Regions from separate parts of the Homo sapiens genome. Here regions 1, 3, 4 and 5 are each linked to region 2. Evidence: promoter capture Hi-C in 16 types of primary human blood cells and fetal thymus (Javierre and others, 2016). All regions are on one chromosome and are shown on one strand. The core of a region is centred on a gene start or on the middle of the fragment in contact, and the rest is flanking DNA. Distances in the headings are between cores, read along the strand shown.

Evidence for each region. Contacts are between HindIII fragments. The CHiCAGO score rates a contact against its expected background, and 5 or more counts as called.
Region 1: a contact is called between a fragment that was not itself captured here and the fragment with the promoter of ELP1 in region 2, in 2 of 17 cell types (total B cells and naive B cells). The highest score is 7.2, in total B cells.
Region 3: a fragment that was not itself captured here is called in contact with the fragment with the promoter of ELP1 in region 2 in 2 of 17 cell types (non-activated CD4 T cells and monocytes); the score reaches 6.7 in non-activated CD4 T cells.
Region 4: a contact is called between a fragment that was not itself captured here and the fragment with the promoter of ELP1 in region 2, in 2 of 17 cell types (naive B cells and total B cells). The highest score is 14.4, in naive B cells.
Region 5: a contact is called between a fragment that was not itself captured here and the fragment with the promoter of ELP1 in region 2, in 1 of 17 cell types (naive CD8 T cells). The highest score is 6.4, in naive CD8 T cells.

What each region holds. Positions count from the first base shown.
Region 1 is chr9:107,494,861-107,497,560 of GRCh38, reverse strand. No RefSeq gene overlaps it. Among named protein-coding and RNA genes, the nearest start is that of KLF4, 6.4 kb to the right of the region's middle. The HindIII fragment of the contact is 2,924 bases long and covers 1-2,700 here.
Region 2 is chr9:108,932,767-108,935,525 of GRCh38, reverse strand. It overlaps ELP1 (elongator acetyltransferase complex subunit 1), which reads left to right and starts at 1,402. Exons shown (of 37, transcript NM_003640.5): 1 at 1,402-1,662. ABITRAM (actin binding transcription modulator) reads right to left here and starts at 1,126. Exons shown (of 6, transcript NM_017832.4): 1 at 961-1,126. The coding sequence starts at 1,039. RefSeq lists a silencer at 900-1,179 and an enhancer at 1,930-2,159. The HindIII fragment of the contact is 11,674 bases long and covers 1-2,759 here.
Region 3 is chr9:107,341,285-107,343,984 of GRCh38, reverse strand. LOC124902241 (a long non-coding RNA gene) reads right to left here. Exons shown (of 2, transcript XR_007061717.1): 2 at 760-1,102. Among named protein-coding and RNA genes, the nearest start is that of RAD23B, 59 kb to the right of the region's middle. RefSeq lists an enhancer at 2,563-2,700. The HindIII fragment of the contact is 4,219 bases long and covers 1-2,700 here.
Region 4 is chr9:107,474,569-107,477,268 of GRCh38, reverse strand. It overlaps the pseudogene RNU6-492P. Among named protein-coding and RNA genes, the nearest start is that of LINC01509, 9.3 kb to the right of the region's middle. The HindIII fragment of the contact is 665 bases long and covers 1,109-1,773 here.
Region 5 is chr9:107,302,710-107,305,435 of GRCh38, reverse strand. The region is part of intron 3 of RAD23B (RAD23 nucleotide excision repair protein B); the gene reads right to left. Among named protein-coding and RNA genes, the nearest start is that of RAD23B, 21 kb to the right of the region's middle. The HindIII fragment of the contact is 3,049 bases long and covers 1-2,726 here.

The sequences.
Region 1 (2,700 bases), core at 63-2,562, 1.4 Mb after region 2:
CTTCCCACTAGCCAGGACATTAAAATTGATTAACAAACACAATGTTTGTGAAAAAAAAGTCAACTACAGGGTAATAAAATGCATTCTTAATTTTTTTTTAAATCATTTCCCTGGCTCAAAGTACATAATTTCAAATTGGCAAAAATAAGCTCCCCTCTTGTCCAGCCCACAAACTGAAAGAGAATTAAACACAGAATTGTTTTTTTCTTGTTTGCATTTCTCAGGGTGTGAAGCATTCATTTTTGTACCTTCAACATTCCTACATTTTCCATAAAACAAAAATGTTACCTCCAATCCAATCTAAACCTAGGGACTTTGTTTTCCTCAGAAGAACGACGTTGTCTTAGTCTAAGAATCTGAGGCACTGAGGCTTTTAAATAAAGGAAGTAGACTCTTGGTTCTCTTTTCAGAGATAATTCTCCCCCAGGGGAAGCAGGCAAAACTTGGTGAACCAAGTGAAGAAGAAAATTCCAGCAACAGGTTTTTCTCTGCCCACTGACTTCTTTGCTGGTTCATTTAAGTACTTTTATTCTTTCATTAAAATTTAAATACTTTTAAAATTTGCTAGTTCATTTACTTTTAAATGTGTTTCAAATGCATATAGTATTGGAGTCATGCTCTACGAAGATGGTAAATGCTAGCCTGCAATTTCTTTTATTAAGGAAAATATTACTGAGATGCCCCTCACTCTTACAAAATGTTTTGTTAAGGGAAATACTACTGAGATGTACCTCACTCTTACAAAATATTTCTTTTTTTATTTTTGAGGCGGAGTCTTGCTCTGTTGCCCAGGCTGGAGTGCAGTGGTGCGATCTTGGCTCACTGCAACCTCCGTCTCCTGGGTTCAAGCTGTTCTCTTGACTCAGCTTCCCAAGTAACTGGGACTACAGGCATGCGCCACCACGCCCAGCTAATTTTTGTATTTTTTAGTAGAGATGGGGTTTCGCTATATGTTGGCCAGTCTGGTCTTGAACTCCTGACCTTGTGATTCACCCACCTCGGTCTCCCAAAGTGTTGAGATTACAGGTGTGAGCCATTAAAAAATATTTCTCTCTGCTTAAACAGACATTTAAAAATAAGCAACCTGGCCGGGTGTGGTGACTCATTTATTTATTAAAAAATAAATAAATACATAAATAAATAAAGTAAAAAAAATCAGCAACCTAAAAAGAGGGATTTTTTTTGTATCCTTTTTAATATCTCAGAACAAGTTGAGGACACTGAAAAGCTGAATTTAATATATTGCAGTCAGAATATTTCAAAAGTCTTGAAAATAATTTCATTAATTTTAGATTTTATTTTTAAATAGCTTAAAGGATGTATTGGGCCTAAGTTTTTTGAGCTAAGAATGTAACTTAAGTGATCAAACCTAAGGGTTCACGAAAAAGATTCTAATGAAATTTCTGAGAATTGATTTTTAAATGTCTGTGATTCATTTTCTGCTCTAAAAACTTCAACCCTTAAGGTTTGGGTTTTGAAAGGCAATGAATTTGGCTGCAGAAAAGAGTGGACTCTTTCTCCATTTGGTTTTGGTTTGGATTTTGGTTATTTTTGTTTGTGTTTTCAAGTTTGTTTTATTACAATGCCTTGGCCAGCACTGTTCTATTACTTTGTCCAACTGTTTTTGAGAGTACAGAGTTATGAAGGATTTTATTTCCTTCATAACTTTCTTTGAAAAGTTTTCCTTCATAGAACTTTTCAAAGAAAGAGATGAAGTGGTGAAGAAAGAGAAGGGATGGAAAATGAAGTACCAAACCAATGACCCTCTCAACTAGAGAGAAATGCTATTGACAAGGACCAGGTCCCCTGACTCCCTCCCTGCCTCTACCCCATTAATAGTTTACCAAGTCAGTTTTGCTCTCTTCATTCATTCTACAATTAATGGTCATTGGGCATTTGTCCTGAAGATGCCATAGGGGAACAGGAGCTACAAACAACCAGATCATGCAAGTCCACTGGGTAAACATCCTAGCAGTCATTACACAGCTTTGTTAGAGCTCAGAGAAAAAAGGACTGGCTTAAAAGGGAACTCATAGACCAAGGAACAATTAAGAGGGACTTTTTGGAGTTTGGGTACGATGAGGGCCCTGAGGGGAGAAAGGGCATTTCAGACAGGAAAAACAGCTGATGAAAATACACATCCTGTATTCAGGGATTTGAGAGAACATCCAGTTAAGAGTTTAGAGAGGGTGAGGTCAGTCTCTAGAGAAGATTCTGGAAAGTTTGTCTAGGGCCAGAGTAGTAAGTGTTGGGTACATCAAGCCAAACAGTTTGGTTTTATTCCTCTAGGCAAAGTGGAGCTGTTGAAAGACTGGCTGGTGGGGAGGTGAGTAGAGACAGAACTGTGGTGGTCTGTTAGCAAAATGGATTAGATCTAGCTGGAGAATGCCAGTGGGGCTCTGAGGGAGGAGACAAGAGGACTATTTGGAGTGTACAGACATAATTAAATCTGTAAATGAGGCTGGGCACAGTGGCTTACGTGTGTAATCCCAGCACTTTGAGAGGTCGAGGTGGGTGGATGGCTTAAACACAGGAGTTTGAGACCAGCCTGGCCAACATGACGAAATCTCTATCAAAATAAAAAAAAAAAAAAAAGAATCAGTGCCACAAGATACTCGCTACTCGGGAGGCTAAGGTGGGAGGATCGCTTGAGCCCGGGCAGTGGAGGTTACAGTGAGCCAAGATAGTGCCATTGCACTC
Region 2 (2,759 bases), core at 153-2,652:
TGCTGATCACGGGTATCCCTTCATTACTCAAAAAGACATACCTAAAGGTTTCCTAGAAAGTATTTAAAGAGATCTGGCCCAGATAGAATAATTTATTCAACATTAAGGTAATTAACTCCTTGCTCCATCTTACTTTACACTCACTTCAAAATGAGTACACGTAGTATTTTTGCTAGGAAAATGCAATTAGCATCCCGTTCTTTATGATATATATTTTTTGTTGGTGGTTTCCAGGACTGTCCTGATGTTGGTGCAAGTCCGACATTCTGGGAAACCCCTCAGTCATGGGTGAACTAGGACAGGTTGGTCACCCTATGTTTGGCCAACAGAAAATATGCTACAATATATATTTTTTAAACTGAGTATAACCATTATCACTGAATGAAAGGAAGAAAGGAGAGTCCCCAACGATGCTCCCACCACTGGTTCTGCTTACACAAAACAGTACAAAAAGAATACCTACTTCTAAGTGGCAGATGGCGTCTCTTAAGGTAAATGTATAGATTCTTCTTCTTTCTAAATGTCTCTAATCTAACCCACCCTCTTCTCGCCATCCCTACTGCCTCTACCTTAGTTTCGATCTGATCATTTAAATAATTTTATGTATCGCTACTCCCTGTGAGAGTGAGCCCCTCAATCCCTCCAGGCACTTAAGGACTGTTGCAACCTAGCCCTCCGCCTACCTTTGGGGCCTCCGTTTAGAGTACTCATCTTACTGCGAGCAACACCCTAGAGCTCGCACTGCAATCGCCGGCCCCAGAATGCGCCCTGAAGTATTTCAGGCCACCAGGTCTTTGCAAATGCCATTCCCTGGGGCTAGACGGAACACAGAAGTCCAGTGCCTTCTGACGTGGGGACGGAGAGCCAGGGAGAGCGCGCGTGGCTTATGATCTGTCAACATAGTCTACACAGCATTAGGCCAGTGCGGCCAAGGAGGGATCAACATCACTCCGCACTTACCCGGTTTGTACCAGCGAGTGAAGTATCGATCCACGAGCGAAGGCACCACCGGCTCCGCGGCTTCGGGCTCGGTAGCCATGGCGACCTCCGGCGCCGCCACCCCCGCCCTCCGGGACCCCAGCGCTTCCTCCGCGCAGCCCGGACTGGGCGTGCTCTTCCGGCGCACAGCGCGTGTCGTGCGCACGCGCGCTGCTCTCAGGTCCGCAGGTTCCACCCCCCCCCCCGCCCCCCCCAATTACAGTGCTTTGGGGTTCGACATCAAAACAGAGATCAAATACAAAAGTTTGGGCAGATGGGCAAGAGGGCAGAGGGACAGGGGACGCGGCCAATGTAGCTCCTCTACCTCTACGGTGCCAGGCCTACAAAGAAGGCCGGCCGCCGTAAGTGACCAGAAGCGGGCCCGGCCTCGCCCCCTCCGCCTGGTGACGTCACTCCCGCGCCGCACTCCCAGTGCTGCGGCTGCCTAGTTGACGCACCCATTGAGTCGCTGGCTTCTTTGCAGCGCTTCAGCGTTTTCCCCTGGAGGGCGCCTCCATCCTTGGAGGCCTAGTGCCGTCGGAGAGAGAGCGGGAGCCGCGGACAGAGACGCGTGCGCAATTCGGAGCCGACTCTGGGTGCGGACTGTGGGAGCTGACTCTGGGTAGCCGGCTGCGCGTGGCTGGGGAGGCGAGGCCGGACGCACCTCTGTTTGGGGGTCCTCAGGTAAGCGATCCATCCAGGGTAGGGGCACGGGAGTGGACCTCTCCGCCGGCGGTGTCCGGGTGAAGGAGACCCGGAGCCTCCTCTGCCTGCTGCGGGCCGGGGACTGGAGTGCGGGCTGCACCACCTCTTTCCTAGAGCCTTAAATTCTTTTTGCAGCCTTGCCACCTGCTCCATCGGGGGCGCTGGGAGGCGCGACAGCCCAGGGATGCCTGCTGCCCCTCCAGCCGGACTTAACCCAGCCTCTTGATTGCTTGCAGGGGGTTGATAATAACGCTGAAAGCGAGAGTATTAATTCACGATGGAAGGCGGCGGTTAATAGAGGCTCGGGTGCTGTGGTGCGGGTCCTTTCTCGCGTGTGAGACTTTTTCGTGGAGGTGGTGTCCTCTGTGCTTCTCCATCTAACGTGGTGTTTTACGTGGCTTTCTCTCCCGTTAACGATGATCTCCGTGGAGACAGTGGCTGAGTAATCTTCAGATCCCAGTACTTAGCAAGTGCTCAGTCGGTGTTGGATGTAGGCCACAAACCGGATCGTAAAGAATTCAACTGTATATTGACAGCCACGGAACTAATCAATGAATAGATCCGTATGAAGAGTAAGCAAAAAGGCAGCAAAGACAGTTTTTCAGCTTGGGGACATAGAGTAGAAATGGTCTGTCCCCAAATAGTGGGAACTGTCATTTGGGGGAAGAATAGCAAGTTCTTTGCTTTCCAGGTCGCATTTGATGTGCATGTGAGACATGCTTGTGATTCTATCAGGAGGTTGAAAATGTGGGTTTAGTGGTAAGTTTGGGCTAATTCAGTCAGGGCTAGGCATTTAGGCCTAATCAGCGTATTGGTGATCTACCTGGTATATGTAATCATGCATGTGATGTCTAGCCAAGAGGTGGATAGTCGAAGGAGCAAGGGAAGAAAATGAAGCAGTTATCAGGAAATTAAGAGAGAATCCACGATTGACCTTTGGTGTGGAGGGATCTTTAGCACATTTAAGAACTGCGAAGAGTTTGAATCAGTGGAGGCAGGAAGGTTGGAGGTTGCAGATGTCCAAGAAAGAGTACTAATAGGCCTAGGTCCTGTGGCAATATGGAGGATATTCCTTT
Region 3 (2,700 bases), core at 144-2,643, 1.6 Mb after region 2:
GGTGGGAAAAGAAGCCACGAGGAGCCCCACTATAAGGGAAAACGTGGTAAATGAGCAATGACAACATGGCGGGCTAAATACATGGACATACTTGCATTAAGCAGTGACTAGTGTGCCAGATAACAGTTGCTGTCATACCTGGTAAAGTCTTGCTCATCAGATTATTGAAGGATGATTATAAACATCTCCATTTTCTAGATGAGAAAACTGGGCTTACAGACATACAACAACAATATCAGAGCCATGGCCAGAATCCATATCACTCTGCTGTAGAAATTTTGAAAACATATGACATGAATTTATTGGTTAAGGAAAAAAAAAAGCTGGGCACGGTGGCTCACACCTATAATCCCAGCACTTTGGGAGGCCGAGGTGGGAGGATCACCTGAGGTCGAGAGTTTGAGACCAGCCTGACCAACATGGAGAAACCCCATCTCTACTAAAAATACAAAATTAGCAGGGCGTGGTGGCACATGCCTGTAATCCCAGCTACTCAGGAAGGCAGAGGCAGGAGAATCACTTGAACCTGGGAGGCGGAGGCTGTGGTGAGCTGAGATCACGCCATTGCACTCCAGCCTGGGAAACAAAAGCGAAACACCCTCTCAAAAAAAAAAAAAAAGAAAGAAAGAAAGAAAAAAAGAAAAGAAAAACAAACGTTTTGAAAATAAAAGCCATTCACTTGTAATTTTTTTTTTCATTGTGGTAGGGAAGCACCAGGGAAGGCTTTATGGAGGTGATTATTAATCTGAGGCTTGAAACTCCTTGTCACTGATTCATTTATTCAACCAAAATGTATTGAGCACCTACTAGGTGCCAGGTAGTAAGGACATCCAGAAGAAAAACATACAGGCCTGCCCTCCAGGAGTTCACACTGTCATGATGGAAAAAAAAAAAGAAAAAAATCAGACAGAGGCAATGCTTTGCGTCGAGGGCAAGTATTGACAGCAGAGTCCATGGGAGACTCCTGATCCAGTGGGGGCGTGAGGGATGTCACAGGAGACCCCCGGTCCAGTGTCAGGTGGTGAAGGTGTTCATGAGAGTCCCTTGGTCCAGTGAGAGGGTCATGGGAGGCCCCTGATCCAGTGGCACCCAGTGGCAAAGCCTGGGGAAGAAGGAATATCTGGGATGAGGAATAAGGGCTGAGTCTAGAAGGCTGAATGGGAATAGAAGGGGAAGAAGTATCCAGAGAGACCCTAGAGGGATATATGGAAAGGTCTGGAGGCCAGCCATCTTTCCCTGGGCCCTGAAACAGGCTAATAGCCATTTGTATGTGTGTGAGTTCCAAGCTAACTGAGAAATCTATGAGGCCTAAGCCAGCTTTTCTGGGGTTATTGCAAATCCATCATTGCTCAAAGTTGCATTGTGTAGCTTGAGATTACGAGCTTTGTAAAGTCCCATAGAAAGGGATACAAGAGGCCGAAAGGCATTCCAGGCCACAAGAAAGAATAGCCTTTTGGAAAGATTCTTGGTTCACTTTTTCCCCAGACACCTCCCCTGCCCAGGGGCTGCAGGGACCTCTGGCTTAAGAATGGCCATTGCTCCAGCTGGAAGATAGCACCTGGACTGGCTCAGGGCTAGACAGAGGAGACGGGGAGCTTCAGGTGGTATCACAGGCCAGATAGGGGATCCTGCCATGACCTATGGATGCCTCACAGAGCACTTGTCTTTGTTTGGATGGCTTTTGAAGGTGATTATTATTTTGAAGGATTGATTATTCTAAAGGGACAGACTTCCCTATCCCTACTCCGCTGCATTTACGGCAAAATAAACTTGAAAAAGAAAAAACCCACTCATCTGACTCCAGATCCTATCAGTTTTCCCTGTGCCTCTTCCTCCAGCCATGGCTTAGAAGGGTAAAAGTTCAAGCTATCTCAGATATCTGAAGAAAAGCCCACTGTCCCCCCAACCCTAATATTTGTATAGACAAAAAAAAAAAAATTGGTCTAAATGGGCTCAGAGAAGGCCTGGAGCCAAGTGAGTCCCCAACCTCCCTGGGCTATGTTCTAGTTATGAGAATCTGGGCACATAGCTCACCCTCTCTAAACCTCAGTTTCCTCCTCTGCATGGCATTTGTGTGTGTGTGTGTGTGTGTGTGTGTGTGTGTGTGTGTGTTGCCCAGGCTGGAGTGCAATGGCGTGACCTCGGCTCACCGCAACTTCCGCCTCCAGGGTTCAAGTGATTCTCCTACCTCAGTCTCCCGAGTAGCTGGGATTACAGGCACGAGCCACCATACCCAGCTAATTTTGTATTTTTAGTAGAGACGGGTTTTCTCCATGTTGGTCAGGCTGGTCTCAAACTCCTGACCTCAGGTGATCCGCCCACCTCGGCCTCTCAAAGTGCTGGGATTACAGGCGTGAGCCACCAGGCCCGGGCCTGACACTTCTTAGAATGGCCTGAGTCAATGCAGATAGAGCTCTTGGTACCTGAAGTTATAGGGGTTTAGTTCTCTTCCTCTTTCCCCTGTAGTTTCGGCAATAGAGGCAAGTATGAGCTGGGTCTCTAGACCAGCGTCTTCCCTTCCTCCAGCGACCCGATTTCCCACAGCTTTTCAGCGACCCACGGATGCTGGGTCTTTCCCACTTTGTGCTCCTCCCCTGAAACTACACGGCTCTCCCTCACCACAAGGGGGCGTGCCGGCGCATGGCAGACAGCACTTGCCCTCCAGGTGTTCAGCCTGCTGCATGTCAGGTCCTGGCTTTT
Region 4 (2,700 bases), core at 192-2,691, 1.5 Mb after region 2:
TCCTTGCCATGTAATTCTCTGCATTGACTCTGGAAAGAGTTTTGTTCATTTGAGGGGTTTGTTGTGTGTTGGGGAAGACAGATGGATGTCAGGTGACCTACAGGAAGCAATTAAGAGACCACTGGGCATGTCCTCCAGGATGCCAAAATTTGGGGAAAGGAGATTTTTTTTTTTTTGAGACAGAGTCTTGCTCAGTTGCCCAGGCTGGAGTGCAGTGGTGCCATCTCAGCTCACTGCAAGTTCCACCTCCCCGGTTCACGCCATTCTCCTGCCTCAGCCTCCCAAGTATCTGGGACTACAGGCACCTGCCACCATGCCTGGCTAATTTTTTTTGTATTTTTAGTAGAGACGGGGTTTCACCGTGTTAGCCTGGATGGTCTCGATTTCCTGACCTCGTGATCCACCTGCCTCAGCCTCCCAAAGTGCTGGGATTACAGGCATGAGCCACTGCACCCAGCAGGGAAAGGAGATATTTTATCCTTTTTTTGGATGACCCATTGGGCCTCCTTTCAAGAAAAAAGGTATGTGTACCATGGACATATGACAAATAATGAAGGCTAAAAAAAAAAAGAAAAAAATTGCACTTTAAAAGCTTAGGCCAGGCACGGTGGCTCACGCCTGTAATCCCAGCACTTTGGGAGGCCGAGGCAGGTGAATCACTTGAGGTCAGGAGTTCAAGACCAGGCTGACCAACATGGTGAAACCCCATCTCTACTAAAAATACAAAAATCACCTGGGCGTGGTGGTGGGCACCTGTAATCCCAGCTACTCAGGAGGCTGAGTCAGGAGACTCGCTTGAAACCGGGAGGCGGAGGTTGCAGTGAGCCAAGATCGTGCCACTGCACTGCAGCCTGGGCAACAGAGCGAGACTCCATCTCAAAAAAATAATAATAAAATAAAATAAAAGCTAAAAGAGGGTACTTTCCTGACCTCATGATCCACCCGCCTCGGCCTCCCAAAGTGCTGCGATTATAGGCGTGAGCCACCATACCAGCTAAAAGAGGGTACTTTCTACTCTAGGATATTGAGTGGGCCAGTCTGCCCAAACAGGAAGGTTTAGCTTTGGGTGCTGTGAAACCCTCCCATTTGGTTTGCTCCAATTCAAGCTTGAGACTCTTCTAGTTTGCCTGGATGACAGTAGTTTTCTGACCTCTGAATACATCTAAATAAACTCACTCTGACAGTGCGCGGAATTGACCATTGCCCTGCCTTTGAGGCACTGTTACCGCCTCACCTAGGAATGGGTAACATTGCAAGGACTGAAGCTGTAAAATTACGTAGGTAGCTCACAACTATAATGCCAATACTTTGGGAGGCAGAGGTGGGAGGATCACTTGAAACCAGGAGTTCAAAACCATCCTGGTCAATATAGGGAGACTCTGTCTCTCCAAAAAATAAAAAATAAAATAAAAAAATAACAAAATTAGCCAGGAGTGGTGGCATGTTCCTGTGGTTCTGGCTCCTCAAGAGGCTGAGGTGGGAAGATCCCTTGAGCCCAGGAGGCTGAGGCTGCAGTGAGCTATGATTGTTTTACTGCACTCCAACCTGGGTGACAGAGCAAGACCCTGTCTCAAAAATAAAATAAAATTACGTAAGACGTTTGAAAAGGAAAGCATCTTCAAGACCATTTAACTCAAGGAAAAGACCCAGATAAAGGACTTGTGACCTTGCCCAAGGTCACATCAAGTTGACATCTGAGGAACCAGCACCTAGATCTGATTTACTTAACAGGCCAATCATCCATGGCTTCATCCTAACAGCCCAAGGGAAGCTTAGAGGAATCAAGATGATCAAAAACATCTTGCTGGCTGGGTGTGGTGGCTCATGCCTGTAAGCCCAACACTTTGGGAGGCCAAGGTGGGTGGATCACTTCAGATCAGGAGTTCCAGACCGGCGTGGCCAACATGGCGAAGCCCTATCTCTATTGAAAATACAAAAATTAGCCGGGCATGGTGTCGTGCACCAGTAATCCCAGCTACTTAGGAGGCTGAGGCAAGATAATTGCTTGAACCTGGGAGGCAGAGGTTGCAGTGAGCTGAGATCATGCCACTGCACTCCAGCCTGGGTGACAGAGTGAGACTGTCTCAAAAACAAAACAAAACCAACCAACCAACCAAACAAAAAACACCATGCTCACCTCGGCAGCACATATCCTAAAATTGGAAAAATACAGAGATTAGCATGGCCCCTGCGCAAGGATGACATGCAAATTCGTGAAGTGTTCCATATTTTTCTGTTCTTGCACAGGCTCTTAAGCAACATGGAAATAAGGTTGATGGAAAATAAACATCAGTTTCTAAACAAACAAACAAAGAAACAACAACAAAACAAAAAACACCATGCAGAAAAGATGGCTTTCAGAGGAAAGTTCTGTTTTTTTGTTTTTTTTCCTTTTTTTGAGATGGGGGATGAGGTCTCACCCTGTCACCCAGGCTGAGTGGTGCAATCACAGCACACTGCAGCCTCAACCGCCTGGGCTCAAGAGATTCTCCCTCTCAGCCCCCCAAGTAGCTGAGACCACAGACATGCACCACCATACCTGGCTAATTTTTTTAAAAAATTATTTTGTAGAGACAAGGGTATCCCTATGTTGCCCAGGCTGGTCTCTAACTCCTGGGCTTAAGGGCCTCGACCTCTCAAAGTGCTAGGATTACAGGCATGAGCCACAGTGCCTGGCCCTGGAAAGTTCTAAATTCAATG
Region 5 (2,726 bases), core at 127-2,626, 1.6 Mb after region 2:
ACCGCAATACCAACCCTTTCTCTTTCTCAGCCTATTCAGTGTGAAGACAAGGATGAAGACCTTTATGATGATCCACTTACACTTAATGAACACTAAAAATATTCTCTCTCGTGATTTTCTTTTGTTTCTTTTTGAGAGAGGTTCTCACTCTATCGCCCAGACTGGAGTGCAGTGGTATGATCACAGCTCACTGCAGCCTCAACCTCCCAAGGCTCCTGCCTCAGCCACTGCCCCCGCCCCCAACACCAGGTAGCTGGGACTACGGGCTCACACTACCACTCCCTGCTAAATTTTTGTATTTTTTTTTTTTGTAGAGACAAGGTTTCGCCATGTTACCCAGACAGGTCTCCAACACCTGAGCTCAAGCGATCCGCCCACCTTGGCCTCCCAAGGCGATGGGATTACAGGCATCAGCCACCACACCTGGCCATGATTTTCTTAATAGTTTCTCTAGCTTACTTTAATACAGTATATCATACATGTAACATATAAAACATGTATTAATCCACTGTTTACGTTATCAGTAAGGCTTCTGGTCAAGAGTAGGCTATTAGTAGGTAAGTTTTGGGCAAGTCAAAAGGTATATGCAGATTTCTGACTGTAGGGGAGAGGCCAGCACTCCTAAGCTCAGTGGTGTTCAAGGGTCAACTGTACATGTGTAAAAATCATACATGATTTTTAGTCTTCTCCTAAGGCCTCTCAATGCTCGCTACCTGTTTAGTTCATAACTTTCCCAAGGACAAAAGGTAGCTGTTTTAGTGGAAGACAAGGCTTAAATTCAACATAATTTGCCACAGGCATAAACAAACTCTAAAACCAATGAGCTGCCTTGTCTTTTTGATTTGAACTAATAAAGAAGACACTAGGAAAAAGGTTAGTGAAAGGTGATAGGTTTTTAAAAAATACTAGTAGCATTACTCCCTTCTTTTCCTATTTAGCTTAACTTTCTTAACAGCCAATATAATATTCTGCAGATTATTACTGTTCTAAAACTAAAATGAGCTGAAATCCTGAGATCATTCTGGATCTTCAGTTATTCTGGATAAACTGGAGCTTCACAAAGGTGAAAATTTAGAGTCTTAAGCACCAAAACTTTATAATAACCAATCTAGATAAAAATGTATTTTTAAAAGTGGTATACTCATTTAATATTTTCCTTAATTGTTATCAAAATAATATTGCAATGTAACTTCCCTTCAAGGTTCCTACTGCCAAGAACAGCTACTTATACTTTATTCTAAACAGTACCAAGCCCTTCTCTGCTTTTTAGTTTTTATTCTTGCTTTTGATCTTAATAGCTTTTTCCTTTCCCTTCTTTGTATTAATAAGGTCATTTCTCAGTGCTTCCATAATGCCTTACTGTAGCAGCATTCCCTCCCTTTTCATAGTTGTCCTCTATTAACTTCAAATAAAACAATCATAAATATCATTAGAATCCTATGTAATATTAGGAATAAAAGACTTTAAGGAAAAACAAAAGGACTGTATGCAATATAATGATAGGCTTCAAGTATCTATTCCTCAAACACACGCACCTATTGAGACTTTTTCTGCTTAATTCTTGTGTTCTAAACAGTCAGGATCACTGTAATATTAAAAGAAACTAAGACCAGTAACAAAACATATTTAAATGTGTGGCTATCACATTTCCCATTATGTACTATGTATGCTAAAACTAGATAGGAAAATAGGATAGTATTCAGTCTTAAAAGTTCAGCAAATTCTGGCACAAGCTATAACATAGACAGATGAACCTCAATGACATTATGCTAAGTGAAATAAGCCAGTCACAAAAAGACAAATACCATAGGATTCCACTTATATGATGGTGATAGCTGCAAAACAATGTAACTATAATGTTATTGAACTGTACACTTAAAATGATTAAACTGGAAGTTTGTTATATTTTACCACAGTTGAATAAAAAAACCTAGATGATACAAGGTTTCCTCACGATTCTGCTTGTTTTTAAACTTAACATATAATGACTTAAGTTCTTAAGTATAGCAAAATCAACATGGTTCTTAATGAATTAAAAAATGTTCAACACTTGTAAACTATTTAGCTGCTTGCTCCCAGTACAAAAGCATGTGGTAATTAGAATTTATTTCTTCGACTCTATTTTCTATTACTATTAACTATTTTGTGACTTTGAGAAAAAACCCACATTTAATCCACTTTTGGCCTTTGATGAAGTGGTTTCAATTAGTGATTTAAACTCATTTTCAGTGCTACAAGTAACACTGTTCTTTCTCAGATTATGACAATCCAATCCTAAAAATGAATGTCATGAGTACCACTTCTCCATTTGTCTCTTAATTCTACACTGCATTATATATCTTTAAATAAACAAGTATATAAATAGTCTCTTAAAAAAATCCATGTTCATTCTCTGCTTTAAAAAAAATTTAATTTTATAAATTGTTCCAAATACATTCCAGCCTACTAAATCACAAAAAAGTATCTGTTTAAAACTTCCAGGCTGGGCGCGGTGGCTCACGCCTGTAATCCCAGCACTTTGGGAGGCCGAGGCGGGCGGATCACGAGGTCAGGAAATCGAGACCATCCTGGCTAACACGGTGAAACCCTGTCTCTACTAAAAATACAAAAAAATTAGCCGGGCGTGGTGGCATGCGCCTGTAGTCCCAGCTACTAGGGAGGCTGAGGCAGGAGAATGGCATGAACCCGGGAGACAGAGCTTGTAGTGAGCCAAGACAGCGTCACTG